Linked DNA regions of Homo sapiens: regions 1, 2 and 3 are each linked to region 4. Evidence: promoter capture Hi-C in 16 types of primary human blood cells and fetal thymus (Javierre and others, 2016). All regions are on one chromosome and are shown on one strand. Each heading gives the region's core, a stretch centred on a gene start or on the middle of the fragment in contact. The rest is flanking DNA. Distances are from core to core; before and after follow the strand shown. Region 1 has its middle 99 kb from the start of DDIT4L-AS1. Region 2 has its middle 3.7 kb from the start of DAPP1. Region 3 overlaps DAPP1 (dual adaptor of phosphotyrosine and 3-phosphoinositides 1). Region 4 holds the start of NFKB1 (nuclear factor kappa B subunit 1).

Region 1 (7,043 bases), core at 340-2,839, 2.4 Mb after region 4:
TACACCAGGCACTGGGTTGGGCACTGTGACAGGGCTGATTCAAATAAACCCTTATGATATTTCCCTGTTGCTAAACTTCCAGAGTATTGACTGGCAATTTTTGGCCAACCTTCAAGCCTGATACATTCTTCTTTATTTGTCAATCTACCCTTTTGGTAATGTGGTAAAGAATCAAGTGTTTCTCTTCAGCAGCAATTCATCAGATAATTGCTCACTTTATTTAGTTGATGTGGACACAGCCAATCTATGTCATTCTGGTCAAAATAATACATTTGCCCTAACATTAGTGTTTTTTGTTTGTTTGTTTGTTTTTACTCTGAATTAAGCACATGAGGCCCTCAACAGAACCTGCATTAGACATAGCACCTGGTGGACAAAATATCCCTAATAAGCATTTGCTTGATTACATTCAGGCTTTAATTTTATTATCTAGAAAAGTGCTATTTCACCTTTATAGGTTTGGATTTGGTTATGTACTTTAAAAGCTTCAGGTAAAACAATGAGTAGATTCCTTTGTGAGAGCCCTCACAGTAAAACCAGAAGGCTGAAGGATACTGAGAGCATAGCCTGGATTGCGGATCCTAATTGACCAGTGCTGTGGTCTTACCTGGGTCATTTATCAGCTGTAAACAGTAGGCAAATTGTTTAATCTGAATGTCTCCTTCCTAATATTAGCATTTAGAACAATAATTCCAACTGGATGAGGTTATTTTTGAGATTTAATAATATAATAAATGTAAAGCCCATGGCATATATCAGACTTTTAATACATGTTTATTTCCTTTTTTCCCTCTCTCCTAGCAAAAATTTAACTTTGTCTTGAAGCTTGCCAAATAAGAAGGCCCCCAAAGTTGCTTGCTCTTGCAAGGATTACAGACTCTCATATTCACTCAAGTACTTAAGAAGTGTCAGGCACATTCCAAACTCCAAAGGAAATTAAATGCTGTTCCCCTGCCACCCACTCTGTCCCCCAGGGACCCCAAGCACATTAAAATAACATTAAGGCAATGATTTAAGCTGAAAATTGGGCTGCCAGGGAAAGCACCAGGCCCCAGTTCTCAGAAGCTTAGCTATACCTATGGGCACAACAGGGTGGCTCCCCTGGCTGGCTGACGTCAGAGCTTAAAGTTGTTTTTACCCCTGGCATTTGTGGGAAGGAAAGGGAGGGGTGAGGAGCGCGGGTGCCTCTTGTTCATTAAAAAAGCCTTCTGGGGACCCCTAGTGGCCACCAGCTATCATAGGTTTCTCTGCCAAAAGAAATCATGAGGCCTCAGGAAAACTACCTGGGGCTTCAATTGTATTTGTCTTCGTTCTCTCCTCAGTGATCCAAGTTTTTTCTCGGAAGTTAGTGGTTAAAAGGTAACCACTTTGTAACAGGCCTGTACAGCTCTCAAGTTTAGAAATTGGAGTTACGGGTGGCATAGACATCAAAATGATGGCATCAAATTGAAGGAGAGCTCTGAAATCCTCTTTTAATCCTCACCAGGAAAGCAGAAGGCAGAGCAAGCAGGCTGAAGACTGACAGAGAAGCATTTGCATGTCCTCCATGAGCCCTGATTTTCATGGGAACAGCTGTCTCAGTGACTGCATACAAGGTCCCACTTCTTAGATCTGTTCCCGGAGACGCAAGAGAAGAAGTAGAATAATAAGTCAAGGCTGTCCTGCTCATAAACAAATGTCAGACTCTTGTAGCTGGTGTGTTTCTGCTTCCTGAGTCTTTATTTCCCAAACCCCAGTGAACATAAGCAATAAAGCTATATCATGCTGGGGAATAAATAATAAATGATTCAGCCTCGACTCCAGGCATGTGTGGAGAATAGATATGGACCCAGCAAGGATTTATATACACAAAGCACCACGACACTCCTGGTGAGAAACTTTTCCTTTCGGGGAGAAACTGAGAAAACACAAGTTTGTTTCAAAGTGGAACAGGGGGTGATTTTGGAAACAACATAGTGTTAGTCATTCAGATTAATCTTCAATTCAGCCCTCCAAGCCTCAGTTCTTTCCTCGCAATGATGAGGCCCAAAGCTAACTCCTCTTTCGGCAATTAAAGAAGAGAGTGCAACACCACACTTAACATCCACTAACAGATGAGGTACCAGAAGCTTCAGCGTAGCCTAGAGACAGCACACTAGGCATAGCTATTAAGGACCCACCTTCAGAAATTTGCAATCTTGTGTTGTTAAATTAAATAAGCAGGAGACCATTGGCCTGGGACTGTCTCATATTTTGAGGTCCTACATAACAAACCACAACCTAATCTAGTACATAAACAAGCCAAAACCTAACTTAGGAGTATATTTTCTTCTTGCGAGTAGCCAAGTTTCAACCAATCACAAACAGCTGACCATCAAGCCAATCACAGGGAGCCAACTGATCAGATCATGCTCAAATAAGGCAGATGCCTCAACACGCCGTGGCCCAAAAAGGCAAATGCCTAGCCGAAGCCAATCAGATGATTTTTTTTCTATTTTTCTTCTGTGTTCATCCTATAAAAGCTTACTGCTTACACTGCTGGGTGGAGCTCTTAAAACCTCTTCCGGTTCTGAGTATTGCTCAATTCACGAGTTGTTCTTTGATCAAATAAAGTCTGTTAAACGAATTTGTCTAAAATTCTTCTATAACAATATCTCTGGCTTTCTTGCTGACTGTCCTGCCTTAGTGGTCACTGGAGGTAGAGCTATCACTTGCGGCATTAGCTGCGACAGGAAACATCACCCCAGGCAGCCAGAACAGAAAAGGAAAATGGCAGACAGCACAGGTTTTCAAGGACTAGCTTGTCATTCATGAGTCCTTTGAGCATGCTTTTTGTAGTGGATTCAATGGTTACACCCCAGAAAGATATGTCTATGTCCAATCCCCTGGAACCCATGAACATGATCTTATTTGGAAAAAGGGATTTTGCTGATGTCATTAAATTAAAGGTCTCGAGATGAGATCATTCTGGATTATCCAGGTAAGCCCTAAACTCAATGACAAGTATCCGTATAAAAGACACAGGGATCAGACTGACCAACATGGAGAAACCCCACCTCTACTAAAAATACAAAATTAGCCTGGCGTAGTGGCGCATGCCTGTAATCCCAGCTACTCGGGAGGCTGAGGCAGGAGAATCGCTTGAATCTGGGAGGTGGAGGTTGCGGTGAGCCAAGATCACGCCACTGCCCTCCAGCCTGGGCAACAAGAGAAAAAAAAAAAGAAAGGTACAGGGGTGAGATATAGAGAGACAGATATGAAAGTCATATAGAGACTGAGGCAAGTAATGGAATTACACAGCCACAAACCAAGGAATGCCTGGAACCACCAGAAGCTGGAAGAGGCAGGGAAGGATTTTTCTCTAATAGTCTGTGGAGGGGACATTGGCCTGCCAACACCTCAGCTTGACTTCTGGCCTCCAGAACCATAAGAGAATAAATTTCCATTTTTTTTCCATCACCCAGTTTATCATAAGTTTTAAGGCAGCCCTAGAAAATTAATACATTTTCAAAAAAATTGACTGAACACATTCTCCATGCCAAACACTATGCCAGACACCAGTGATACAGCAGTAAACCAAACAAAGGCCCCTGCACTCATGGAGCTTATTTTACAAAGAGAAAAGAGATTATACACTGGCAAATAGACAAACAAACAAAAATTTTTTTGAGAGTGAAAAGTCCTGCAAATAAACATGTCAAACATGGCCCTGTGGTAAAGATCATATACCTAGAAAACTGTACAAAATCCTCCAAAAGACACCTAAATTTGATAAATGAATTCAGCAAAGTCTCAGGTTACAAAATCAATGTACAGAAATCAGTTGCACTGCTATACCCCAGCAAAGACCAAGGTGAAAATAAAATTAAGAACTCAATCTCTTTTACAATAGCTGCAAAAAAAAACTAGGAATATACTTAACCAAGGAGGTGAAAGACCTCCTAATACAAGGAGAACTACAAAACACTGCTGAAGGAAATCATGAACGATACAAATAAATGGAAACACATGTTCACAGAATGGAAGAACCACTATCATGAAAATGACCATACTGCCCAAAGCAATATACAGATTCAATGCAGTTTCTATCAAAATATCAGCATCATCTCTCACAGAATTAAAAAAAAAATTCTAAAATTCATATACAACCAAAAAAGAGTCCTAATGTCCAAAGCAATTCTAAACAAAAAGAACAAATTTGAAGTCATCACATTACCTGACTTCAAGCTATACTACAAAGCTATAGTTACCAAACAGCATGTATTGGTATAAAAGTAGATACACAGAACAATGGAACAGAATAGTGAACCCAGAAAGAAAGACAAATACTTGCAACCAACCGATCTTTGACAAAGCATACAAAAACATAAATTGAAGAAAGGACACCCTATGTAATAAATGGTGCTGGGAAAACTGAATAGCCACATGTAGAAGAATGAATGAAACTGGATCCCTCTCTCTCACCGTATAAAAAATCAACTCAAGATAGATCAAAGACTTAAATCTAAGACCTGAAACCATAAAAATTCTAGAAGAAAACCTAGGAAAAACTTTCTTCTGGATACTGACATAGGCAAAGATCTTACGACTAAGACCCCAAAAGCAAATGCAACAACAACAAAAATAAAAGGGACCTAATTAAACTAAAAATCTTCTGCACAGCAAAACACATAATCATCAGAATAAACAGACAGCTCACAGAATGGGAGAAAATATTTGCAAACTTTGCATCAGACAAAGGATTAATATCCAGAATCTACAAGAAACTCAAACAAATCAGCAACAGTAAAACTAATAATCCCATCAAAAAGTAGGCAAATGACATGAATAGATATTTCTTAAAAGAAGACATATAGATGGCCAACAAACATGAAAAACTGTCCAATATCACGAATCATCAGGGAAACACAAATTAAAACCACAATGAAATACCACCTTACCCCTGCCAGAATGGCCACTATTAAAAAGTCAAAAAACAATAGATGCTGGTGTGAATGTGGTGATGTGGTGAAAAGGGAGCACGTTTACACTGCTGGTAGGAATGTAAATTAGTACAACCTCTATAGAAAACAGAATGGAGATTTCTTAAAGAACTAAAAGTAGATCTACCATTTAATCAAGAAATCCCACTACTGGGTATCTACTCAAAAGAAAAGAAATCATTATATCAAAAAAACCCTTTGCCAGGTGCAGTGGCTCACGCCTGTAATCCCAGCACTTTGGGAAGCCAAGATGGGCGGATCACGAGGTCAGGAGATCGAGACCATTCTGGCTAACACGGTGAAACCCCATCTCTACTAAAAATACAAAAATAAATTAGCCGGGCTTAGTGGCGGGCGCCTGTAGTCCCAGCTACTCGGGAGGCTGAGGCAGGAGAATGGCGTGAACCTGGGAGGCGGAGCTTGCAGTGAGCCGAGATCAGGTCACTGCACTCCAGCCTGGGCGACAGAGCGAGACTCTGTATCAAAAACAAAACAAAACAAAACAAACAAACAAACAAAAAACACTTGCAGGCATGTTTATTGCAGCACAATTCATGATTGCAAAGGTACAAAACCAACCTAAGTGCCCATCAACTTATGAGAGGATAAAGAATATGTGGTATAAATACACCATGGAATACTATTCAGCCATTAAAAAAGAACAAAACAATGTCTTTTGCAGCAACTTGGATGGAACTGGAAGCCACTATTCTAAGTGAAGTAACTCAGGAATAGAAAACCAAAAACTGTATGTTCTCACTTATAAGTGAGAGCTAAACTATGGGCACACGAAGGTATACAGAGTGGAATAAGGAACTCTGGAGACTCAGAACGGGAAGGGTGGGAGGAGGGTGAGGAATAAAAAAACTACATATTGGGTACAATATACATTACTCAGGTGACAGGTGCACTAAAATCTCAGACTTCAGCACTACACAATTCATCCACATAACCAAAAACCACCTATACCCCAAAGGCTATTGAAATTTAAAAATTTTAAATAGAAACACTTACCAATATTTAAAACATAATTGAGGGATGCAACTCCAGACAGGATGATTAGGCAAGAGTAGGTGACATTTTAGCTGACTCCATCCAGAAATATCCAGAAAATTTTGAGAAGAATCTTAGGGGCATTGGACTTTTTCAAGAGGTCAGGGTAAAGCCAGAAAAAAAAGTGCCATTTTGCAACCATTACTTTGTGCCTTTAAAATCCCCAAAATTGTTTTTCAAACTATACTCCTTGGAACCCTAAGGAGTGCCACTAAAACCTGTGCGGGAGCCACACACAGCTGGAGCGGGGCTGGAGACTCAGGCAGGGTTCTTTGTCCCTGACATCTCTGTTAATCAGAGCAGCTATATGCCCTCCAACTTTCTATATTATAGCTTCCATGTAAGCTTTTGCCTAAGAAACTGTTTTGCAACTGAGAAAATTTGAAAACCACTGCCCTAAGCTGATGTAGCCTAGGAAATGTGAAATTACATTAACGTAGAGAATGTTTTATCCAGGGCCTTCTACGTTTCAAAGTACAGCCATTAGTTCATCAGGATGTACATAAACTAAACAAGGACATAGAATGTTTTCTCCTTCCTCCTGGATTCCTGTCTCCCTTTAATTGAGAGCCATTCCTCAAGGAAAGAGGATTTACTTAACTGAACGATATATATTGATTATCTGAATTATTTTTTAACTCATTATACAATAGTTTATGTTTTCACACTTTGCCTAAATATTTTTTAAGAATCCCTACCCTGTGTAACATGCTACAGTTGCTTCACAGCTGTGCTAAAATAAAGTCAAGGAGGCAGCCAAATAGAACTTCCTGTTAGCTGGTGATATGGCTTGGATGTTTGTCCCCTTCCAATCTCATGTTGAAATAATGCCCAGTGTTGGAGGTGGGGCCTGGTAGGAGGAGATTGGATCACGGGAGCAGATCCTTCATGAACGGTTTAGTACCATCCCCTTGGTGATGAGTGAGTTCTTGCTCAGTTGGTTCATGTGAGATGTGATTGTTTAAAAGACTCTGGGACCTCCCCCTTCTCTCTCTCTTGCTCCCACTCGCACCATGTGACATCATCTGC
Region 2 (6,498 bases), core at 91-2,590, 2.7 Mb after region 4:
TATTTCTGCTTGTTTACCCAGACCTTCTAATATATCCTCAATGCTCCGAATAGGGATGATTCAGAGACAATTATTGTTTCCTCCACAGAAAAAGAATTAGGAGAGGAGAAGGTAGGAAAAAGTTACAAGGGGCCATTCTGGTGCCCACCTAATGGGGCATATTAGAACTCCTGGAGTCTTTTTTTTTTTTTTTTTTTGAGACAGTCTCGCTCTGTCACTCAGTCTGGAGTGTAATGGCATGACCTGAGATCACTGCAACCTCCACCTCCCAGGGTTCAAGTGATTCTTCTGCCTCAGCCTCCCAAGTAGCTGGTATTACAGGCACCCGTCATCATGCTCTGCTAATTTTTGTGTTTTTATAGAGACAGGGTTTCACCCTCAGGTGATACACTCACCTCGGCCTCCCAAAGTGCTGGGCTTATAGGCATGAGCCACTGCACCTGGCCTGAACTCCTAGAGTCTTTGAGTGCCACTTCCTTCATGGGCTTACTCACACCTGCATGGCTTTGTGCCCAGATTCATATGTAGAGCAGGATTCTATCTGCCTGGAATGCTAAAGGTAAATTGCAGTGACTGAATCCTTGGGAAGTGGAACAAAGTGCAGTATCAAATGAGTCAAGGACATATGTTGCTTCCTGCCTTTTCTATGTACCTACAGGTCTCTCTCTCCCTCTCCCTTTCTCTCTCTCTCTTCCTATCTCTACTCCCTGACTCATTCAGCACTCACCACAGTGCTCTGTAACTTGTTCTCACAGTGTGGCCTGAGGACTAAACAGCACAGCAGAACTGTTCCTAAAGGACTAGATGATTGCAAAAGGCTGCTGTGCAATGGTTCTATCCTTCATCTTCCTCCCTATTACCACTGTTCACCCGGGATCGGTGAGACCCGGGTAACACTGGTTGCCAGTGGGAAGTTCCTGAGTGTCTGGAGGCAGTCTGCTGAAGACTAAGCTCTGATAATACATATATAACTGACTAAATGAGCACTTAAATTCTTTTGGCTACAGTTTGCTCACAGAGAAGGACAGGGCCCACTTGAACAGAGAGGCCAGTGCAGGCCAGGGAGATACTGAATATGCATACAGCAGTGACAGGGGAACAGCCTGGGCACTAGAGTTCCTGTTCCCTCTCTAGAGCCCTTTATTTGGTGTTTTAGTATCTATTTCATTCCCATTTTTAGCAAATTCTGGTTGTTCTTTTTCTTAACTTTTTTGGAAGTACAAGTAGCAGAATTTTCTAAGATCGTCCTGCTTTTCTGGCTGAATCTTCCTGCCTTTTGCCCTTCCTCATGTTGCTGTCCTGTCTGTTGCCCTCTCCTTTGATGTCATTGTCCCACTTTGTCATTTACTCAATTTTTCACAGTATCCCTACCACCCCGCCCACTCCACTAACTACACACTTAGTTTTGCAGTGGTAACAGCTGCAGGAGGCTTGCTAGATAGTTTCAACAAAATGCTGGAGCCCATCCCTCCCGGGACATCTATTGCTGTGTAACTGAAAGGGGATTTAGAATCTTGTTCTGGGCCGGGCGTGGTGGCTCATGCCTATAACCCCAGCACTTTGGGAGGCCGAGGCGGGTGGATCACCAGGTCAGGAGATCGAGACCATCCTGGCTAATACAGTGAAACCCTGTCTCTACTAAAAATTCAAAAAATTAGCCGGGCATGGTGGTGGACGCCTGTAATCCCAGCCACTCAGGAAGCTGAGACAGGAGAATGGCGTGAACCCGGAAGGCAGAGCTTGCAGTGAGCTGAGATCATGCCACTACATTCCAGCCTGGGCAGCAGAGTGAGACTTCGTCTCAAAAAAAACAAAAAACAAAAAACAAAAAACCTTGTTTTGGAACCAAGGCCAGCATCATGTCTGTTCTTATCCTTCAGTGCCTGTGGCATGCTAGTTGTATATTTAACAGGTATATTGAGGTACAATTTGTATATCATAATGTTCATTTTCCTTAGGTGTACAATAATTTTGAGTAAATTTGCAGAGTCGTGCAACCATCATTGCAATACAATTTTAGAATGGTTTTTATCACCCCAGAAGATCCTTTGTATCTGTAACAGTCTAAATACCACTTCTGTTTTTAGCTCTACCTGAAATTATATAGAATATTTGCTTACTTGTGGCAAATTCTCTTGATGGATAGATAGTAGATAGATGATAGATAAATAGATAGATAGATAGATAGATAGATAGATACATACATACATACATACATACATACACACATACATCTCCCAACCCACATGCTCTTCTGCAATGTGACCTTGCTGCTCCCTGTCAAGAGGCAGCACCTAACTCCCCTCCTTTGAATCTGGCCTGGCCTCTGTGATTCACTTGTGACCAATAAAATGTGGTGGAAGTGACACTGGATCACTTCTGAGGCTAGGTCAGAAGAAGCCTTGCAGTTTCTATTGTGGTCTCTTGGAAGGCTCACTCTCCAAATGTTACTTTCAGGGGTTCCCCTTAGGAACATAATTGTTATGCCTAGAAGCCCAAGCCACGTGGAATGCTTCATGTGTGTGCTCCAGTCAACAGTCCCAGATAATCCCAGCTTGAATCATTCTAGTCCAGGTGCCAGACTTGATTGAAGAAGCCCCCAGATGATTCCAGCCTCCAGCCATTCAAATCACTCTCTCCTAGTGGTTTGCATATTGCCAGCTGAGGCCCCAGACATCAAAGAGGAGAGACAAACCATGCCCTGTTTGAATTTTGGATCTAAAGAATACATGCACTTAATAAGATGTTTGCTATTTGATGCCATGAAGCTTGGGATGGTTTGTTAGGCAGTGATATGGTTTGGCTCCTTGTCCCCACCCAAATCTCATCTTGTAGCTCCCATAATTCCCACATGTTGTGGGAAGGACCCAGTGTGAAATAACTGAATCATGGGGTGGGTCTTTCCCCTGCTGTTCTCATGATAGTGAATAGGTCTCATGAGATCTGATGGTTTTAAAAATGGGAGTTTCCCTGAACAAGCGCTCTCTTTGCCTGCTGCCATCCACATAAGATGACTTGCTCCTCCATGCCTTCTGCCATGATTGTGAGGCCTCCCCAGCCATATGGAACTGTAATTCCAATAAACCTCTTTCTTTTGTAAATTGCCCAGTCTTGGGTATGTCTTTATCAGCAGCATGAAAATGGACTAATACAGCCAGCGATAGATAACTGAAACACTTGCCTATCATCTGGGTCAATGCCTAGAATGTGAGCTCCCAGAGGCAGGGACTTCCAGGGTCTTGATCACCTTATATCTTTGATGGTTACTTTTACGTGTCAACTCGGCCAGACCACGGGTTGCCCAGATAGTTGGTCAGATGTTATTCGGGGTGTTTCTATAAGAGTGTTTTTGAGTGAATTAACATTTAAATGGTAGGCTCTGAGTAAAGCAGATTGCTCTCTATAACGTGGGTGGACCTCATCCAACCAGTTGAAAATTTGAACAGAACCAAAAGACCAGCCTCCCCCGAGCAACATAATTTTCCAGTAGACTGCATTTGGTCTTCATTTGCAGCATCAACTCTTCCTGGTACTATAGTAGACAGCCTTTGGACTTGAACTAGTTCTCCAGCCTGTGAGCCCACCCTGCAGATCTTGGACTTACCAGCCTACATAATTATGTGAGGAAATTCCTTATTTTATACAACGCACACACACACACACACACACACACACACACACACACACACACCCTCTCTCTCTCTCACACACACACACTCTCACACTCCACATATATACATACTATTGGTTTTGTTTCTCTGGAGAACCTTCACTGATATAGTATCCATAGCCCCTAAAATGGTGGTTCTCAATTGGGTCCTCATTTTTGAGGTGGTTTTCATTGTTAGTTGTCACAACCTGGGGAGCCTACTGGCATTTAGTGTGCAGTGATGCTGAATATCCTAGTGTGCAGTACAGCCCCCACAATAAAGAATTACCTGGCTAAAAGTATCAAAAGGGCTACCTGGTCTACCTCAAGCACATTTTTTTCTCACTTTAAGAGCAACCTAAAAACCATAATACAGTAAATCCACTGAAGGTAACTATGCAAAGTCACCTACCTAACGAGAAAGCTAAAGTGAAATAAAAAGCCAGCCCTTCCCAGAAATCACTGGGGAGGATTTCAGGGAGAAAGGGCTAAGACCCTACCTTTTTTACAAGCAACCTGAGGTCAAGTGAGCACAAGTCAAGTAACATTAATGGGACATTGAGGTCACTCTTCATTTGTGTCTACCATATACCCTGTGCCCAAGCCCATTGCCGGCCTGACTTGGATAATCAGTTCTACATGGTTCAGGAAGCCAGGCTAATTGGTTCACTGGTGACATTTCCCAGTAGCTGGTGTTGAAACAATTAAAGCTTTGCCCTCAAAGAAGAAATACAGCCACTCTCAGTGGTTATAAAAGAACAGCTCCCCCTGTTGGTGCAGGCTATATTCATCTTTTCAAATGAAAAAATAACTAACATATTTGACTGGATCACAATTTAGAAACATTCAATAGGCTCCTGGAGGTCTAGAAAGAGAAAGACATGACCAATAACAGCAAACTTAACCAGGATCCATAAAAATACATTTCTTTAGATTATGAGTGTTCATAATCATTTTCATTTGTATATCATGAACATTATGTTATTGACACAGAGCAGGTATTGCTATTCTTGTTATTTTTTAATAGATAAGAAAATTGGAGCTCAGAAATGTTAAGAAAATTGTCAGAAATTAGCAGCACCAGGAAGAGAATTTATGTGCATCAGTCACTATCCAGTTAAGAAAAGAGAAGCCACTGTAGACATTTAGCTGCCACTGCTGGTCTGTGGGACCAGAAGGACACAACTCTGTTGATGCAGCTGAAAACTGGGACTGAGGCTTTTGGAGCATGCAGCTGCCCACCATTGCTGAAGGCTGCTCATGGTGCTGAAAGCACTGCCTAAGGAAGAAAAAAACAAAAACAAAAACAAAAAAACCCCAGATTTCTACCCTTCTCCAGTCTTCCTGTTAGCAAATTCTTTCTGGAAGACAGCTGGCAAGGGAATTAGTGAAATGTAGTTTGTGGGCTTCCAGTCCCCTATGATACCAGGCGAGGAGAGGAGGTCAGAAGTGGAGCTGAAGCCAATTGATGAATAACTAGCACATAACATTTTCACTCAAGGTTCTTTTCACTCTGCCTCATTCTCTCCTGTGTTCATCAGGGTATGCTAAATTGCTACTTCAGAAAGACCCAAAATTTAACACTTCAACACAGAAGTGAATTTCTTATTCATATGACTGTGAATAACGTGGGTCACTCTCCCCACCCCATCCCTAAGGGTCCCGGGTCACTCTCCCCACCCCATCCCTAGGGGTCCTGGGTCACTGTCACCTCATCCCATTTCTAGGGGTACTGAGTCACTCTCCCCACCCCATCCCTAGGGTCCTGGGTCACTCTCCCCACCCCATCCCTAGGGGTCCTGGGTTACTCTTCCCTTACCCCATTTCTAGGGGTCCTGGGTCACTCTCCCCACCTTCATCACTAGGGGTCCTGGGTCACTCTCCCCACCCCATCCCACAGACTGGGTAGCTTACACAAAACAGAAATTTATTTCTCACATTTCTGGAGTCTAGGAAGTCCAAGATCAAGGCACCAGCAGATGTGGGGTCTGATAATGCCTGATTCATGGTTCATAGATGCTGGCTGTCTTCTTGCTGTGTCTTCACATGGTGGGAGGGGCTGGGAAGTTCCCTGGGACCTCTTTTATAAGACATGAATCCCATTAATGAGAATTATGACCTTATGACTTAATCACCTCCCAAAGGCTCCACCTCCAAATACCATCACATTGGGGATTAGGCTTTTACATAGGAATTTTGTGGGACACAAATGTTCAGTTTTTGGTAGGGAGTGAGGAATGGTTTGCCTCTGCTGAGAGGTATATTCTGTCATTGACATTGGTTAGAATTGCTGGTTTCTGGTGATAATAAAGAGCAGAATGACTTCTCATTGGTTTTATCATTATCATTGTTTCTTTATTCCCTTTCTTTCTTTTTTTTTTTTTTTTTTTTTTTTTTAGAGAGTGTCTGGCTCTGTCACCCAGGCTGGAGTGCAGTGGCATGATCTCACCTCACTGCAATGTCTGCCTCCTCAGCTCAAGCCATCCTCCCACCTCAGCCTCCTGAATAGCTGGGACTACAAGCATGCACCACTACACCAGGCTTATTTTTGTATTTTTTGGTAGAGACACGATTTTGCCATTCTTTCCAGGCTGGTCTTGAATTCCTGGGTTGAAGCAATCCTCCCGCCTCAGGCTCCCAAAGTGTTAGGTTTATAGGCATGAGCCACAACGCACAGCCTGTTTCTTTATTGTTATTGACTATACCAGGGATTAAAGTGCTCCCAAGCACCCCCTCACCTTTGTATGTCACTGGTAAAAAAGATTCTTATATTAGAAGGAAAGTTATTCTAAGTCACTTTTAAGTTCCCTTTTAACTTTGAAATAATGTGACTTTTTAGAAACAAATAC
Region 3 (6,359 bases), core at 1,931-4,430, 2.7 Mb after region 4:
ACACAAAACTCCTAAAGAAAAACTTTTGTTTAGAGTATTTATTTTATGCAGTGAGGTCAGTGCTTATTCATCAGGTACCCCAGCTAGCCTGTAAGGTGTTTGAAGGCAAGAATAATATCTGATTTATCTTTCTATGTTATCAGTGGCTCACAGGGCCATTTCACTCAAAACATTTTGTTGAATTAAATTAAAATCAGATCATGTCCATCCGTGTTTCATTACTGCCCTCAGGTTCAGAAAATAAGCTCTGCAACTGGCATAATGAGTTCCTCTCTCCCCTCCTTCCAATGAGAAGTAGATTTCTTGGGGTTGGTGGGAGAGAATAGGGTTATTCAAGATCTTTTTCCTTCCTTCTTTGCCACCTGCTCTGCAAATGGACTTTAAGCCTTGTTCATTTACATGTGAAGGGGTTTTAATATTTAATTTCCAGTCTCATAGGGTGAAGTGCACTGAACTAGGAGAGACATACCAGTTAGTCAGTGTAGGAGAAAATTCTGTTCAAATATCCAAGTCAAGTCACTATTTTTGGAGTGCTCACTTGATTCTACCACTTATATGAGTCCACTATGGAACTAGATTAAAGTTTGAAGAGGACATCACAAACATTTGATAAATGCAAATTCAATTGTCCCTAAACTAATTCTTTATTATTTATCAAAGAACGTACAGCTTTTGCATAGAATCTGATGGAATTAATAACCATAAAAGCATTTTATTAAATATGAATAATAATTATTGAATACTTATACTATGCTAAGAATCATTCCAAATGTCCTATGTGCCTAATTTCATTCAATCTTCACAATAAGTCATTAAAGTATGAGCTACTACCATCTAATCAGTTTCATAAGATGATGAAACTGAAGCTCAGAGAGATTATTTAACTTACCTGAGGAGACACACAGAGCCGGCAAATGGCAGAGGCTGGAGTTGAAACTTAGAATTTGTGTGTTTACTCATTATACCATAATTATTCTCAGCCTCAATCTAGTCACCATGGAAACTTCTAGGGCATGTGAAATACTGTGCTGTATTGTGGGCAAGAGTTGACATGTATAAATCAAAGTTTGAAGAAATTGATTCTTTAGGAGGCAGCTTGAGAAAGGAGATGTGAGTTTTTGCTTCCCCATTTCTAACCAGGCCTCAGTTTCTTCATTTATAAAGGAAAAATGCAATAGTCCCTGAGCTCCCTTTCAATTCTAACATCCTGTAAATCTAACTAAGCATACAGGCCCAAATAAGGGGAAAAAAACATCGAGAAGCTTCATTACCAAATGCTTGTACTGCTTCCTGTAAATGTACAATATTCATTTGAAATACTTTGTTCCTGCTGTCATTTGATCTTACCTCTCATTTTCCCTTTCTTTCAGTTTCTCTCTCAAGCTGTAAATTTTATTTTACTTTGTTATACTTAGACAGGCTGTTTGATATCCTTGCTGAAGACACATGACTAAGATGAGCCTGTATATTTAGGGGGATGTTTTCTTTTCAGCCTTTTTATGTTTTAAAGTTTCCTCTGGTATAATTTCTGAAATAGCAATTCATGTAAATAAAATGGGAATAACAATAAATACAAAGGCAGAAGTTAAAGTTGATTCACACTCTTTAGAACAATAGGTTTACTTCATGTACCAAACATGTTATTGTAGACTTTAAAGAAGAGATAAAGAAGAGACTGAGGGATAGGACTAAGACATGTGTTACAGCCCTGCCATATCCTACAATCATTCTACTACATTATTGTAGCAGAAATTCTTCCAAATTTATTAAAGGCCATGCTGTGCCATGGCAGCAATGTATTGCAGTGTCGCTGTAGGACCAATTTCAAGAGATAGCAAGGTGCCTGGAAAGCATCTATGCTTCAGGACCAGGTTAGCCCAGATTCCAATCTCAGCTCTGAGTTCTTCCAAATCCATTTAAGGCCACACTGTACCATGGCAACAATGTACTGTTATTGTGGGACCAGTTTCAAAAGATAGCAAGGTGCATGGAAAGCATCTATGCTTTAGAACCAGATTAGCCCAGATTCCAATCTCAGCCCTGATGTTTACCAGCAGTGAAAACTTGGGCAAGTGACTTAAAACCTCTGAGTTTTCCTTTCCTCATCTGAAAATAGGACCGTTGTATGCATTATTGTGGGTGGCTGAGATGAAATAAGTTGATGTAGGTGAATGCCTGGAACCTAGCAAACACTCTAAAAATGTTGGCTTAATTCCCTTCCTCAGCTGCTTTTTCCTTTTTCGAATAAAACTCATCTATAAACTGAGAACATTTTGTATTTTTGGCAAACATCCAAGGAAGTTTGGAAAAATTCTAAGTTGTCACTAGTTGTTTTCTGAAGAACCACCCAATTCTCAAATTAAAATTAATTTTAACCACATTATTTAAAAATATCACCTGGGTGGTGTCACAAAACAAAATAATAATAGCGGTAGCTGTCGTCAAAAGATTGGGAATCCCCATATCAAAACAAAAAGAGAAATGGAGATTTGACATTTACCAAAAAACCAGATGAGATCTTTAAAATTGGGAACCAATTATTATAAAGGGTAAGCACAAACATAGAACTTGACTTGTATTATATTTTTTCATGCCTGTTAGGTGATTACAGTCACAATACAATGTAATAAATTATACATGGCAATTTCATGTTAAGAATTATTGAAACATAAACAAAAGGTAATGGTAAAAGTAATTTTTTGTTCTAATCATATTTAGACATTTAAGCATAAAGATAAATGCCGTCTACATTTTCAAGACTATATATATGAAACTTAGCTAATTACAAGAGGCTACGACAAAATTAATAATGGACCAAACATATTTATACTAATAAAAAAGTTTCTCAAATTTTCAAGTCTATTTGAGTTTAGTTTAGAGTTCATGCACAGACATGAATATGTTTTATTTGATATCCTACTATTGAGACAGAAAAACTCCAACCGGCCTGCCCACTGAGGTGAAGCCTTAGGAAGTTCGTGTCCTTTGCAGTGGGGAGGAGCCTGGCCCCTCCTCTTCCTGTGAGGAACATAGAATTCAAACTGCTGGGCAGGAAGCGCTCTAGCTTCCCTGTTTCCCTCTTTTCTTTCTTTTCATCCAATAAAACCCTGCTTCACTCACCCTTCAAACCGTCTGCGAGCCTAAATTTTTGTGGCCGTGGGATGGAGAGGGACCCGATCTTTAGCTGAACTAAGGAAAAGTCCTGCAACACTATCACAAATGAAAGGCAAATTCTGAATTTAATCATCACTGAGCATACATGCAACACAAAATATCATTTCAAATTATGTTTTTATAAACTTTGAAAGTTAAAATTGTCACAAGTTTGCTAGTTTTGATGTTGCCATGCAAAAAACTGCAATGCAGGCATTGGAAATGGGGCATCCAGCATGACATATTGTGGAAATGATCAGTACTTATTTTTTCAGGTCCTGGGACATAGCAGGAAGCAAAGCTGACAAAAGTCCCTTTCTTCATGGAGTTCACACACTAGTGTGGAAAAAAAGGTATTTTTTTAAAAAACATAAGTGAATTATAGATGTCAGAAGGTAAAAGGGCCATTGAGAAAAATAAAGCAAGAGAGTACATTGTATATCTCTATCATGTACTTGGGAAATTATTAGGTTTTGAGAATTGGAAGTATCTTAAGAGTGTTTATGGGTATTGATAAAAAGAAATTAGAGTGAACAGAAACTTTAATGGAGATTAGAGAGATGAAATAGAGATTATGGCAAGGGAAAGGGAAATTATCATAAAATACTCTTAAAGTTGTCAAGAGGCTTAGATGTTGCTTAGGAAATCCTTGCTTTTCAGATTAGCAAACAGAAATCCTAAAAGTGTAAAGAGTAGGGAATAGAAAAAAAAGATATCTTAAAATAGCATTAATCCCCTTAGGTCAACACTTTTATCTATTTTGAGTGCAAAAATGTTCTTACGACCCAAAATCAAATATTCTGGGTTTCACTCTACTGAAGGCATTATATATAACTGCAAGGCAAAAGTGTAAAGTTTTGGCTATTTGGATATCATTTCTGTTGCCCTCAAAGGTAATACCACTTGTGCCAGTAGATAAATGTATTATAAGAAAGTCACTCTTTAATAAACTTACCCTCTAGACCCTGCAGGGTGAGGCTGGGCCTGGGTGGGGTCTGGCTGAGAGCAGTGGCCTGAAATATCCAATTCTAGTCCTTGTCATTCTGGTAATCTGAAGTTGAGAGCCCTGGGAGGGGCTTGTCCATTGTGTGGACAAATGCTTTTCCTGGTGATGTTAATCAAACATAAGCTATAAGAAATATCTGTACTTCTGGCGTGAACCCGGGAGGCGGAGCTTGCAGTGGGCCGAGATCGCGCCACTGCACTCCAGCCTGGGCGACAGAGCGAGACTCCGTCTCAAAAAAAAAAAAAAAAAGAAAGAAATATCTGTACTTCATCTGAAGGTGAACATGAAATCGTTAGCCTGAAGATCTTCTGATCACTGGGAGCCAATACTAGGAGCCCATGCTTAAATGAACAAGAAGAAAAGGCCTATTTTTAGAAGGTGGCATGTCAGTTTCCATTCACCATTCTTTATAGTCTGCAATGCTGACTCCGTAACCTTGAGGAATTTCTGGGCTTACAAGTCATCATGACTTGAGCACATTATCTTGTTTCCCAAGGCCTATTACTCCCAGAGGGGCAAGATTTGAACACTCATCTGTCATGGGTTTTGCCTGTTGTTCCTAGCCCTGATGGCTTTCCCTTCATCTGGCTGGGACAGATAAGAGGAATAAAGCTGGTGGACTCTAACTCAAGGGCTGGAAGCCAGCAAGTCAAGTGCATATCCATCAGCACGAGGGGCCGAAAGCAGGAATTCAAACAGCAGCAAATTCTTCATTGGATAATGAATAGAACAGAGGAGAGGCAGTGGAGAGGATAAAAATATTAGGTTCCTGAGTTATATTGTAATAAATAAAATGGCAATTGTAGTCAAGATAATAATACAGCAGGTTTGAGTTTTAGAGAAACTACTGTAGAAGTCTGGATGACAAATCCTTACAATCCCTAATGCATCAATCATAAGGCTTCTTTACTCAGAACAGTGTATTTACAAGGAAGCTTATCATTGTCCCAAATGCAATATCAAAACATCTTTATTTTGGCGCATCCTTAGGTGATCCTCTTGCCTGATGATTGGATCAGTGCCAGAAAGGTTCAACCAGAAAGCACTGCCTTCACTTTGATCTTAAATGTTTTGAAATCTGCCAGTAGGCAGAATATGTATCTTTTCCCTAACTTGGAGAAGGCCCAGGAAGGAGCACAGGGAATGATCAAAGAAGTTGAAAATAGAGTCTAGGAGAAGAATTTAAAAGAAGGGAGCTGTCTTTGGTTGGAAGAAAAAGAGAAAGTAGAAAAATGACAACTCTAGTGGCTTTGAAGACTACAAAGAGTTCTTACTCATAGTTATCCATGTATTCATTTATTTATTCACCCAAAATGCCCTGCAGTGGGCCAGGACCTGGCGGATATGAAATACAAAAATTAGAGGTACACAAAACAAAACCCTGGCTTTAAAAATCTCCTCTACATGGCCAGTGACCAATAACTGAACAAAATCAAGTGTGGAATTGGATGCAAGCAGGAAAGGAGACTGAAGTGTAGGGATTTGAGAAACTGAAATGCTTGCCAAGGCCAAGGTAGCAGTGGAAATAAATACACCTCCACTGGCCATTTGTTCATGGGAACAACTGCTTGTTAAATGGTGAAGTAATTTTCAGGGTTGATTGGGAGAATTTATACCAGGAGAAAGAAGGAAAAAAAGGTTATAACTTCATTTCGTAGTTTGGGTTATTCTTTCTTGGGCTTGGTGTGGTCAGTATAAAGCAGAGCAACTATTTTCTAGTTTCCGCTGTGCACTTCATGTATACTAGACACTGTGTGAGTCACATCAGGGACTACCCACACCACATAAATAGCAGAAAAGACAGAAGCCAATGATGCCATCTCTTCCCATCACACTGAAGTTAACAGAAAGCCCACTGGCAAGTTTGCCAAGAAAACACGTATGTACAAACTCATGGTAACTGGTTGTGTTATTAAGTCTTGAGTTCCTCTTGTGCCGCAGGTTCTTGGAATTTCCTAGTCTTTGATTAACTAAGATTTATCATTATTTAGGACAAAAGTGTTGTGATTCTATATCACAAATACAGGGATGATATTTTACTTCATTAAAATAATATAAATAAACAAGATGTTCAATCTTAGATAATTCAAGTGCCAAGATAGACTGTTTTTTGTGTTTTTTTTCTTTACACATGAATTTTTTTCTGGTTTAATTCTCTAACCATTCAAACAGGAAAATTCAAACTTTTCCAGCCATAGTT
Region 4 (6,788 bases), core at 1,265-3,764:
GTAGTTAAAACAACCTGCATAAATATTAGTTTCTCAAACTACTTCAATTTGTTTCCAGGAACAGTAACAACAGAAATGTAAGGAATATAATCACTAAATCTAAAATTCTGCCTATTTCAGATTAATTGTGCTTTAATCAACTCAATCAACACAGATCTTGTTTAAGAGGTAGAGTAAAAAGGAAGTGCAAAGATCAAAGCAATGCTTACAAAGGGGAAGGACTATTTTTGTATGTATACCCCCAGTATTTACTATCTGGGTTTGAAAAACACGGGCATTTACTCAGCACAAGTGAGTGCCAATGCCTAACATAAGAATGAAATTTCAGCAAAAAGATAATAGATTTTCACATCACCACCAACCCCTAAAAGGATTATACTACCTTCTTTAAAAAGTCTCAAAGAGTTTAGAAGTGGTTTGCTTTTCACTGCAAGCAGCTTTTCGGTTCCAGTATTAAATGTACATATAACGTGTGTTCCTTTGTGTTCAAGTTTGTCCAGTAGGCTGCAGCCCAGGAAGACATTTTATCTAAACAAGCAGGGGAGGGCATTTAGGAATTGCAGGTGTATCAATATGGATGAATAATCTCAGATTCCAAGTCTCCATTAATCGTACATGTTCTTTCCATTTTAGCAATTCAATTAAATCATGAATGTAAAATTCTACAGGAAACAAATCTTTTTATTTCCTGTCTTCCCAAGTTTATAAACTCAAAAAAGTACATTGCTTCAAATTTAAATACATACATTTAAATACATAATTCCTATAGTGCCTCAAACAGTAAAAGGATTCATCTCTAGAAAGCACAATATTAAAATCAGAAAAACAACATACTTTAGTTTTAAGTTTCCCTTTTAAAGTTTTAACAAACACGAATGCAGTTTAAACTGCTTGACAATATTCAGTTGTGGGATTCTGCTAGAAAAAAATTATTGAATATCTTGACCCTAACCTTTACTATTTACTAAAAGATCACCAGTATGTAGAATATTTTGATGCCAGAGCTATTAAATGTTTTAGTAATACCATAAGCATTTTTTCAGATTATGAGCTTTATAAAAAAATCTTTGAGTTAAATATGGTTATTTCATAAACTGTAATGCTGAAAACCTCTACTTAACAAAGTCCATGAACATGTCAATCTTGATAATTAAATCCTGTATCATTAAGTCCCATTTGAGTTTCAGGATAAACCAGCAAGTCAGGGCAAACATTCCCTGGTGTCTGTTTTTAAGGACCATAGAAAAACTTGCATTTAGGATAGGCCTTGTTTTTACATTATTTTTGTTTCAGCGGTCATGCATAATGCATGGTGGCACTGTCCAAGAGTTTTACATAATCAAGTCTAAAAAGTGCTCTAAGTATCCAGGTAGGTAATTTATTTTCTCTCTCAAATGCCAGGCCCCGGAGGATCAGAATCAAGTCCTATAGCAGGTGACTATATCGTGTGTGTGTGTGTGTGTGTGTGTGTGTGTGTGTGTGCGCGCGCGCGCGCGCACGGAGGGGGGGAGGGGGGAGAGAGAGAGAGACAGAGAGCGAGCCAGGTTTCTTTTAGAAGTAGGAGAGGGATGAATAGACTCTCCTATTCAATTCTGGGGAGCTGGGGAGGGCTTTCCCAGCCAAGAGGACTGACAAGCACTTCTGCTTTCATTTCATGGAACGCCCTTAGGTGAAATCTGGTTCTGCACTGCACCAACCACCTTCCCTCTCTCCTCCGCGCCGCAGCGCACTCCAACCTTCTCACCATCCCCCAGGTGGGGCTGGGGTTGGGGATTTTAAAAGTTTGTAAGAGTTCCCCTCCGGTTCGCGTTCCCGCCCCGCGGAGGGACGTGAAGAGAAATGACCGCCGGGCGGCCGCGGCCCTTCGGCCGACTAGCCCCTGCGAGGTCCGGATGTGTCTTTCCCCGCTGTCGCTAATCCCATGTGCCTCTCAGCTACTGTCAACCTCCTCCCACGGTCTAGCCCAGCGGTTAGCGCAGGAATGAGGAAGTCCGAGTGGGGCTGGAGGGGGTGCGGAGGGCTGGGCGGCAGGACTTGGGCCACGCGTCCCCTGCCGGGCCCCCACTCGCCCGAGTTTGGCTTACCCGGGTGGCGAGTCCGCGTTCGGCCTCCTGGCGCGGGTGGGCTCTCCCTCCTAAGCGGCGCGGGCCTGCCGGCTGGAGAAGGAAGAGGCGGCGGCAGGCCGGAGCCCGGGCGGGCCCGAGTGCGGGTCGGGGCGAGCGGGAGCGCGGCGGGGCCGGGCCAGGCCAGTCAGCGCCGCGCCATGGCCGCAGCGCGGGCGGAGGGAAGCGCAGGGCGCGCGGTGGCCGGGCGGCGGCGCCGCCTTACTGGCCGGGCGGCTGCGGCCTCGGCGGCGCTGGGCTCCGGGAGCGGGGCCGGTGGCTGCGTGCAGGCCGAGGGCTGCGGCGGCTGGCGGCCCGACCGACGGGAAGGGCAGGGGAAGCTGTCAGCGCGTCGCCGGGCCGCTCCGGTGGCGAAACCTCCTCTTCCTGCCCCGGCTCGCTGGTGCACTTCTCTCTCTTTCTGTCTCGCTCACTCTCTCACTTCCTGGCTGGAAATTCCCACTGACGTCGAGAGAGCATACAGACAGACGGACACACGCGCGCACGCAGCGGGGGCGGGAGGTAGGGTCGCTGCCGGGGGTGGGGGAAGCCCGCACTTCTAGGGGCGCTGTGCGCCCCCGGCCCGGCCTTGCCGCTCGCCTCGGCTCCCGCCCCTCGGGGCCGCTTCGGGGCGCCGGGCGAGGGGCGCGCGTTAGGCGGCCTGGACGCCGCGGCCCCTGCGGGGCTCTGGCTTCCTAGCAGGGCGCTCCCGAATCCCAAGGGCTGGAGCCGGTAGGGAAGCCCCCAGGAAGCGCCTGCCGGGCCCAATCAATGGTCGGGGAACGCAGGCAGCACGGAGGCGGCGGCGGTGGCAGTGCCGCTGATAGAGTCATGCGGTCCATAGCCCCTAAGGGCAGGCCCGAGCAGCTGGAGGGTCGGCATGGATCCAAGCATGCCAGATATAAAAATAAAGCTCATCTGTATATTCCATTTAAGCGTGTCTCAGTTACATTCACATCTCTTCACAGATTAAACTACAATTTCGTTATCATAAACGACTTGTGCCCAGTAAAGTATAACCCTCTACTGGTTTTTGGTGCGGTCTTAAATCTCCTGGTTATAGAGCAGTTACTCAGAATGTTCATCTACAAGGCATTGTTAGGCCTTTATGATAATTACTGTGGATAGAATTATAGTGATGGTGGTAGCAATGGTTTTGGTTCACAGCTCATAAAATACTGATCTGGCAGAGGGGAGTTTTCTTTTTCTCTGAAGAGACCGCTACTGGCACCCACTGACAGGCCTCCCAGTGGCCACCATTCACTGGCATCTGAGCTGCTTTAGTGCTGGGCACTGTATTAGGTACAGGCTGGGGATACCTTCGGGTGGATTACCTCCCCACATAAGAAAGCTTGAGCCGAAATATATATTTTAGAGCTCATTGTTTCACTACTGGGTGGAGTGACAACTGAAAGCTTAGCTTTAAAACATCAGTAATCAGGTCCTCACCAGGCAATATTGCAGTGGCATTTAGATTGCTTATGGCATGTTCATCCTAGTCCTTTCGTGCCCACTCTCCATCCTCCTCCTCCAGTAGGTTATAAAAACCTTCTTGGTGGAGTGTTTTTCTGGAAAAAAAAAATAAACAAAAAAAACCCACACACACAAAAACCCAGCGATCCATTTGATTGCCTATGAGGTGAGTCTCCGAGGCGACCTTGGAGGCCCCAACAGTCGACCTTTAAGTGATCTCATTTAGCTCCGGGAGGCTGAGCAGCTGGAATTTAGAGGATCCATAAAGACTGAACACAATGACTTTTTAAGAAATTCTGTGAGCCGGGTGCGGTGGCTCACACCTGTAATCCCAGCACTTTGGGAGGCCAAGGCGGGTGGATCCCCTGAGGTCAGGAGTTTGAGACCAGCCTGACCAATATGGTGAAACCCCATCTCTACTAACAATACAAAAAAATTAGCCGGGCGTGGTGGCGGGCGCCTGTAATCCCAGCTACTCCAGAGGCTGAGGCAGGAGAATCGCTTGAACCCTGGAGGCAGAGGTTGCAGTGAGCCAAGATTGCGCCACTGCACTCCAGCCTGGGCGAGACAGAGCGATACTCTGAGAAAGAAAGAAAGAGAGAGGGAGGGAGAGAGGGAGGGAGGGAGGGAGGTGTGAGCATACACACTCTACTTTTCATTCTGCAAGGGGTGGCAGCCCCATTACCAAAAGATAGATAAATACAATTGTTATAAGAGTAGAGCCAGTGTGACATATTTGGGAGTAAAAAATGAAGAGCGTTAATTACTGAAAAGGATTAAATCAAACTCCAAACTCAAAATGATTCCATAAAATGAACTTAAAATTCAGGGTAGGGTGTTGAGCAGGCATATTTTCCTGGGGCTGCTGTAAAAATTTACCACCGACTGAACAGCTTACAACGGGAATTTATTCTGTCACAGTCCTGGAGCCTAAAATTCTGAACTCAAGGTGCCATTAAGGCCATGATCCCTCTGAAGGCTCTAGGGAAGAATCCTTTGCCTCCTCCTAGCTTCTGGTAGCTCCAGCAATCCTTGCCATTCTTGGCTTGGCTGCAACACTCCATTCTGTGCCTACATTGTCACATGGTCTCCTTCCCCGTGTTTCCTTTGTGTCGCTATATTCAACTCTCCCTCACCTTTCTTTTATGAAGACACCAGTCATTGGATTTAGAGCCCACCCCAATCCAGTATTACCTCATCTTAACTTGATAACATTTGCAAAGATCCTAGTTCCAAATAAACTCATGTTCACAGGTACCTGTGGTTAGGACTTGAACATATGTTTTGGGGGGATGTAATTCCATGCAGCACAGCAGGCAAAACTATAAAAGCTTTTTGGCTTGCTGATTAACCCTCCTCCATTCCTGCTTTGTTACCCAACATTTTCTCTACACTGTACAAACCTGCTTCCAGGAATATCTCTTACAAATTCATCCATCCTAAGGTGTCAGAAGGTATTTGCCATTATCAGGCTACGAAGAGGAAAAAAATGCCTCAATGTGGAATTTCAGACATCAATATTGTCTAAAAGACAAGTTATTTTGTGTTTGTCACTTGTCTTAGTTCATTTGTGTTGCTATGGCAGAATACACAAGACTAGGTAGCTTATAATGAAAAGAGGTTTATTAGGCTCACAGTCTTCAGACTGTACAAGAAGCATGGCACCAGCATATGCGTCTGGTGAGGGCCTCAGGCTGCTTCCACTCAATGGAAGGCAAAGGCGGGTGGTGTGTGCAGAGAGATCGTATGGCGAGAGAGAGGGGAGAGATGCCAAACTTTTTAGCAACCAGCTCTCATAGGAACTAATGCAGTGAGAACTCACTCATCCTCTCCTCCTTGCAGGGAATAGCATCAATCTATTTGTGAGGGATCCACCTCCATGACCGAAACATCTCCCATTAGGCCCCACCTCCAAAATTGGGGTCACATTTCAACATGAGGTTTAGAGGAGACAAATACCCAAACCATAGCATCACTAAATCATTGAAACTACACAAATTTCCCTTCTCATGAAGCTATTTTGGAAATACCAGTGTGGAGAGAATTCTGAGGTTGAGATCTGTGTAGTGTGTTCATTGGCAATGAGAACATAGGAAAAGTATGTCTTCTTTTTAATTGCCTCTGAGTAAAGGTGACACAACACTTCTGCCCACATTCCATGGCCCCACTTAGATGCAAGAGAGCAGGGAACTACAGTTCTTCTGGTTGGTTAGGAGGTTGAAATAGGTCGGCTAAGCATATGGTTAATACCTGCTATACACGTATTCACTTATTTGGTTGTCAGTCATATAAAGTGGATCACCATTATAATCCCCATATTTACAGATGAAAAGTTGAATAATTTTCCTAAGGTTTCATAATTAGTAAATAGAAGGAGAGTCAGGATTTGAACCTAACAGATTTGGCTCCAGTGTGCATGATATTAACCACCACACTAAACTATTATCCAATGATATAAAAAGGAGCATGTAAGAGATTTTTAGAAGATGAGGTCAACAGGACCTGTTTATAGATTATATATGCAGTTTGAGTGAGAGGAAGACTCATAGATAGCTCTGAGTGTTCTAGTCTGAGTGATTAGAATAGTAACACTGTAACTGGGAAAAAATCTGTGGGAATGTAATGCATTCCCACATACCAAACATACATGTAACATGTAAACATACATATTTTAGACATGTTTAGTATGACAGATTTAGTGAGATGTCCATATGGAAATGACTAATAAATATGCAATTGAAAACTCAAGGCTGCTGCTCAGAGAGACATGGCGTTGGAAATGGAAACAACTGCAAAGATGCGATAGTTGTCAGGAGAGTGTTTCTAAAACATTAGTGGTCAAAGAGTTAGGAGACAAGGGGCTAAGTACAGGAATTCGAGGAATGACTTTATTTCTGGGGTTGGTATGAGAGAGAGATGCTTAAAAACTCCTGCAGTGCCATCAAAAGTGGGAGGAAAGCTCAGAAAGCCAGAGAAGAGAGAGTTTAAAGGGTATGAGAGCTCTCAACAGTGTCAGATACTGCAGACAGTTCCTAAAGGATGGAGAGGGGAAGAGACAGTTGACTTTGTGAATTATAAAATCCTAAGCCCGGCCTCGGGGCATGGCTGTGCAGCCAAGGGCAGAAACCAGTCTTTCTTCTGTTCACTCTGCTCGCTGTCTTGGAGGAAAAGGGAACTTTATTAACTCTCAAATAGCACTGATACGCAGTGGCT

Evidence for each region. Contacts are between HindIII fragments. The CHiCAGO score rates a contact against its expected background, and 5 or more counts as called.
Region 1: a fragment that was not itself captured here is called in contact with the fragment with the promoter of NFKB1 in region 4 in 2 of 17 cell types (fetal thymus and total B cells); the score reaches 6.2 in fetal thymus.
Region 2: a fragment that was not itself captured here is called in contact with the fragment with the promoter of NFKB1 in region 4 in 1 of 17 cell types (naive B cells); the score reaches 5.2 in naive B cells.
Region 3: a contact is called between a fragment that was not itself captured here and the fragment with the promoter of NFKB1 in region 4, in 2 of 17 cell types (neutrophils and activated CD4 T cells). The highest score is 8.1, in neutrophils.

The regions. Positions count from the first base shown.
Region 1 is chr4:100,087,757-100,094,799 of GRCh38, reverse strand. No RefSeq gene overlaps it. Among named protein-coding and RNA genes, the nearest start is that of DDIT4L-AS1, 99 kb to the left of the region's middle. The HindIII fragment of the contact is 1,043 bases long and covers 1,068-2,110 here.
Region 2 is chr4:99,809,882-99,816,379 of GRCh38, reverse strand. No RefSeq gene overlaps it. Among named protein-coding and RNA genes, the nearest start is that of DAPP1, 3.7 kb to the left of the region's middle. The HindIII fragment of the contact is 2,861 bases long and covers 1-2,770 here.
Region 3 is chr4:99,840,902-99,847,260 of GRCh38, reverse strand. The region is part of intron 3 of DAPP1 (dual adaptor of phosphotyrosine and 3-phosphoinositides 1); the gene reads right to left. Among named protein-coding and RNA genes, the nearest start is that of DAPP1, 27 kb to the right of the region's middle. The HindIII fragment of the contact is 3,832 bases long and covers 1,265-5,096 here.
Region 4 is chr4:102,497,085-102,503,872 of GRCh38, reverse strand. It overlaps NFKB1 (nuclear factor kappa B subunit 1), which reads right to left and starts at 2,514. Exons shown (of 24, transcript NM_003998.4): 1 at 2,085-2,514. NFKB1-AS1 (NFKB1 antisense RNA 1) reads left to right here and starts at 1,387. Exons shown (of 5, transcript NR_136202.1): 1 at 1,387-1,434. RefSeq lists an enhancer at 1,835-1,884 and silencers at 1,995-2,564, 2,575-2,834. The HindIII fragment of the contact is 5,238 bases long and covers 1-3,455 here.